2 separate regions of the Homo sapiens genome follow, and region 1 is linked to region 2. Evidence: promoter capture Hi-C in human tissues and cell types (Jung and others, 2019). All regions are on one chromosome and are shown on one strand. Each heading gives the region's core, a stretch centred on a gene start or on the middle of the fragment in contact. The rest is flanking DNA. Distances are from core to core; before and after follow the strand shown. Region 1 has its middle 97 kb from the start of LINC02272. Region 2 holds the start of GLRB (glycine receptor beta).

Region 1 (2,700 bases), core at 103-2,602, 530 kb after region 2:
ATGAGTGTACAAAGGAGATATTCATGGAACTCTTGATAGGCATTTGCACGTAAAGAAGAGTGCCTTGTCCTAGCTATCTCAAGCAACTGCCACTTACTGTCAATCACATCTCCTGGAATTGGAATTGGACTTGGCTGCCCCATCTATCTCCATCTCTCCACAGTGAGCTCTGTTTAGTTTTTTTTATTATTATTATTTTTGAGACAGAGTCTCACTTTGTCACCCAGGCTGGAGTGCAGTGACAAAATCATGGTTCACTGCAGCCTTCACCTCCCCAGGCTCAGGTGATCCTCCCACCTCAGCCTCCTGAGTAGCTAAAACTACAGGCACACGACACCACAGCGAGCTAATTTTTGCAGTTTTCATAGAGATGGGGTTTTGCCATGTTGGCCCATCTGGTCTTGAAGTCCTAGACTCAAGTGATCCTCTAGCCTCGGCCTCCCAAATTACTGGGAGTACAGGCATAAGCCACTGCACCTGGACTGTTTTTGGTTCTTTCTGTACATCAAGTCCACTCTCTTCTCTATCTGCAAATAAGCTTCTTCTCTTATTTCTGCTTTTTCAAAACTTTGTCTTATCATGGTCCATCAAGGCCCTTCTGGGTCTTTTTTTATAACATAAAGTACTTCTTGAGTGAGCTTTGTCAATCACCTCACCTCTCTGTATTTCTTTTATTAAAAATTGTAGAGAAGAGTCTGATAGTCCCATTTAACATTTCACATTCATTGGAACATCAAGGATCCTTGTAAAACTGATGTTTTGGCTGCCTTTGAGCCTTGTGCATACCCCTGGTCTAATTGTATGGCTGGGTTGAAAAAATAAAAGCATATTATAGCCACATGGTCCAGAATTTGACCATGACTGACAAGAATCTGTGCACAGGAAGTGTAGATGAAGGCATATGTGTAGCAGACTTTCTCAGGGTCAGGTTATTCAATACACAGCATGTCAGATTGAAGCAGAGCAGTAAGACAAATGTCCCAGAGTAGATGAGAATTCAGCTGATGCTTGATCAAAAAGAAGGAAGTAGAGAGGTGAAAGGGAAGGATGAACCATTAGGGATAACTTCAACTGCAAAAGCATTAAGGATTGAGAAGCAAGGAACCTTCAGGAAACAGCAAAGTTGGAATGGCTGATTGTTCTTCATTTCAGTCAGCTAAGGACATTTAAACCATTGATTATCACAGTGTTTCTCCAACAGGAGTCTGTGTCTCCCCAGAGAGTGATTCAGTTGTTACAACAGAGCCACAGAGATTAGCAAGTTATAACCTCCTTTTCTATTTCCAAGTGAAGAGAAAATAGTAGAGAAAATATTTTGCTTTCCTATTGTATGTTTGTTGATTTCCTCTGGCCGACAGACATGTTTTCATTTTGATGGCTGCAATGGGAATTAAAGTAGCAAGCCAGTCTGACGTTGGGTGTCTCATGTAGACTACTCTATTTTATTGAAAGCAGCTATGCCAACCAGGTCATTCATATAAGAAACATGAACAAAACCATGAGAAACACATAACTGCACTGTGTCAAGTGGAAGGAGAAGATTTGTAAACAAGAAAGTGGGAGAATGTTTCAGCAGCATATTGCCTTGGGACCACTAGTTCTGACATCTTGGCTGACAGCAAGCCTACAAATGTAAGACAAACCACAGCAGCAAGTAGCTCTAAGAGAAGTTGCTCAAGCCCTAAAATGGTCTCCAATTAAAACAAAGGCACTCCAAGAAACATAAGTTTGAGAAACACAGGCACAGAAGTTACAGACCTTATAAACAGTTTCTGGAAAATACTCTCTTAGCCTAGCATAAGGGGATTAGGAAGGAAACACAGGGCCCAGACCTATGTGAATTTTCAGGAAGTGTATAACACCAGAGCAGTAGGTCTGTGACATTAAGAGTTTTCCCTGTGAGAACTGCTCACAGAGCAAGTCTCAGAATAAATACCGAATTAAATGACAATAATCATTGTTGACAGGGAAAGTGTGCCAGCCTTACATCTGGCATTCAGTAACACAACGTAAATTCTCTATCTGTGAAGAGGATTAATATGAAGATCCAGTTCATAGAGATGGTTTTAGATGATATTTTGGCTTTCAGAAAAGAGTTTGCCTCAAAAGCTTACGCAACCAACTTCTGTTAGAAAACCCTTTCCTAAAATGGAAAACTGAAGACATTTCAATTATAAACACAGTTTAACATATAATATTCTAATAACAGCTATTGAAATATGGGCTTTCATTGAACAAAGCTTAGTCTCATCAGTCACATATTATAATTTTGCATTAAGATACATGAGCTTAATTTTGGAAAGAAAAGAGGAGTTTAGTGAAGAAGCTTCTTGAATCCAACTCCCTCTTTGACATTCTCATTTGAATGCTTAATAGCCTTCACAAACTTAATATTTCTGAAGTTTAAAATTTCCTACAATTCGATTTCATCCATAATATTGCAAATTCATTTTTCCATTTTCTCAAGCCATAAACTTTTGGAGTCATCCTTGACTCCTCTCTTTCTGTCACAACTCATATATAATTCATCCACTCTTCTCAGCTCTCCATGATTTGCTTGTTTGGTTTTGGAAGTGTACACAAAAGCTAGCATAAACAACCCCATTCTAGGCCACCGTTATCTGTACCTAAACTGAAATCTTTTAACCTGTTTTTCTGCTTCTACTCATGCTCCCTATGATCTTTTTGGCACCCTAAAGG
Region 2 (2,835 bases), core at 180-2,679:
TTTTTCTTTTTAAATTTTTATATTGTTTGAAGTTCTTATGTATATTTTTTCAAAAATAATGTATTTTAAAGAAAAAGAAATTCTAAGTATTAAAAAAGACAGATAAAAGAAAAAGTTAATATCAAAGAGTTCCACATTCAAAATTCATTGCTTTTTTTATTTAAACACATTACATTGGCAAGCTACCTTTTTGCCCCAAAAAGGTGCCTCTTAAGTTAGCTTTAAAGCTTTCTTACTTATTTGCTACTAACATTTGTCATCAAAAAGATTACTTCAGAAATTCTACAACAAGAAATAAAACAAGTGTTGTTACATTTTTTTCAAATTATCGTCCTAGCCATATTTTAATAACATTTTCATGCTCAAATCAGAACCATATTCTTGCCAGAGATTCTGATAAATAAAAAATAATTAAGCCTCTACCTACACTAGAGAAGTTCAAACTCTTCTGCAACCTTCATTTCCAAACCATAAATTGTTTCTCTTTCATTGTTTTCCGCAGAGTAAAAGACCTGTCATATTCTTCAACGCTAACTTAATTCCCATCTCACCCTCAGAAATTTGCTTCTCCTTATGTCATGTTTTTCATCTTCCCCCCCCCCCCCCAGGATTCTTCCCCCCATATTTATCTTTTACACACACTCCAGGCAAGCCAGAGGGGCTTCTCCCTGGGTACTTTAAATTGAAGACAACAGAGGGGGCTCATCAGACCAACAGCAACAACACAAGGTTCTCCTCTGGCAACTTCACAACATTGGACGCTCCCTTCCCCCATCCGACAGCGGCACCTGCTTCCAGACACCTTGCCCACAGCAGCAGGTACTTCTCCCACTTTCACATCCTTGCCCCCGCAAAAAGGAGGGCCGAGCCCCCCTAACGCTTCGAAAAACAGAGAAATTCACCACTCTGCTCTGTCCTCACCCCCAATCTTTCAAGGGGGACAGCTGCATTGACTGGAGGATCCTCATAAACAAAACAACGCAAGGAGCCCTCCTGGCCAACCTTGCGTTTCCTAATTACCCCGGCCCTCTGCATCTCTCCACCCGGAGCGTCTCCGCGGGCGCCACCGCAGCGGGGACCCGGCTGCCGCTGCCAGGCGCCCCGCGCCCCTCTCCCGCGCAGGGCAGCGCGCGTCCTCCCGGGCACGCCGCAGTGCTCCTCGCGCTCCGCCGCCCCGGGCTTGACCCGCTGTTTCCGCAAAGGCGTCTATTCCCGTCCTCAGACCACCGTCGCCGCCCCAACCCGCGTCCCCTCCTCCTAAGTGGAGCTCCTGGCACTTACCCGGAGGCGCCCCTGCCCACAATCGCCGGGCGAGATCGTGGAGGCTCCGGGCCCAGGTGGCAGTGGCTGCTAAGGGTGCAGCGGGCGCCGAGCGGGGGCAGCTGCGTCCCAGCCGCCCGCGCCACCGCCGAGCTCGGCTGACGCGCCTGCTCGGGCCGCGGAGCCTGCGCCGTGGCGCGCCGCGGTCGGGGCCGCAGCGGGGACAGCGCGGGCCGCGGGGGAACCTGGCGACCGCGGGCGGGGGAGGGAAGAGGTGTCCCGACAGAGCAACGTCACGGCATCGTCCCCTTCAGGCATTGGAGGGGTTACCGAGCAGAAATGTGTACCCCCCTCACTCCTTAGGGGACTAAAGGAGTTGGGGACGAAGGGCGGGAATGATAGTGTCGGTACAAAAAGAAAAAACCTTTCAAGGAGCTGGGATTGCTTGGGGTCAGCTTTTGACCACTAGCAACAAACAACAGAGCAACAAATGACCTTCTTGGGTCAAAGCGAACAAAACACATTTTCTGTCATTTCACCATTTGCCTGGAACCCAGACATCCAGCTTAATCTCCGGGTCTTCCAATTTCTAAAAGCCTGAACTTTCTGAGCAAGCTTAAATTGGTCAAAATTACTGACAATATAGTCATACAGGTAATACTATGTTTAACATCTGTTACATAATTAACATGTGTACAGAACTTGACAGTTGCAAAACACCTTTCACTCGCCTTATCTCATGTGGCCCTCACCACATTCCTGGGCAAGTTTTGTCATCCCCTTCTGTAGATGAAGAATCTGAAACTCAGTTATATTAAGAGATTTACTTAGAGTTACAGATCTTGAAAGAAATTTACCAGAGATTCAAAATTAGTGATTTTTGCATATCTGAACCAGACAGGGTCTCTGCCTTATAAGAGCAAAATACTGTTGTCCTCATCCTTGTGAAGAAGTAGCCCTTACTTGGATATGCAGCCCTTAGATAACAGATAAGGCTATCCTATTACCTCTTGAATGTATGCCTGATTGATTTTTTTTAATTGTTATTTTTTAAGCAACAGGAGCTCACTTTGTTGCCCAGGCTGGAGTGCAGAGGCACAGTCATCGCTCACCGCAGTCTTGAACTTCTGGGCAATCAAGAGATCCTCTTGTCTCGGTCTCCCTAGTAGAGTAGCTGGAACAACAGACAGGCCATTGCGCTCCACTAATTATTATTATTATTTTTTAAGAGACAGCATCTCTGGCTTTGTTGTCCAGGATGGTCTCCAACTCTGGCCTGAAGCCATCCGCCTGCCTTAGCCTCCCAAGCTGGGGGGCTTACAGGCTTGAGCCACCCCACCCCACTGCACCAGGTCCTGATGGATTTTTTTTATTAAAAAAGCATTGTCTCAAGTGAGCATCACTTAGCATTGTATTGTGGACCCACAGATGTATCCACTAATAAATTTTTCCACCCGCAGCATATGGAGGGAAGGAATATTTCCTGCATATAACCGTGTTCCATAAGCTTCATGAGATATTCTGCTGCCTAAGAGTAGTGATCATTAATAAGTGATCATTACCTTATTTACATTA

What was found. The method cuts DNA at HindIII sites, captures the fragments that hold promoters and counts their contacts. A contact is called where the count stands out against the background at its distance.
Region 1: a contact is called between a fragment that was not itself captured here and the fragment with the promoter of GLRB in region 2, in 3 of the 25 tissues and cell types used here (IMR-90 fibroblasts, hippocampus and mesenchymal stem cells).

What each region holds. Positions count from the first base shown.
Region 1 is chr4:156,544,111-156,546,810 of GRCh38, reverse strand. No RefSeq gene overlaps it. Among named protein-coding and RNA genes, the nearest start is that of LINC02272, 97 kb to the left of the region's middle. The HindIII fragment of the contact is 4,245 bases long and covers 1-2,700 here.
Region 2 is chr4:157,074,744-157,077,578 of GRCh38, reverse strand. GLRB (glycine receptor beta) reads right to left here and starts at 1,429. Exons shown (of 10, transcript NM_000824.5): 1 at 1,282-1,429. The HindIII fragment of the contact is 3,601 bases long and covers 1-2,321 here.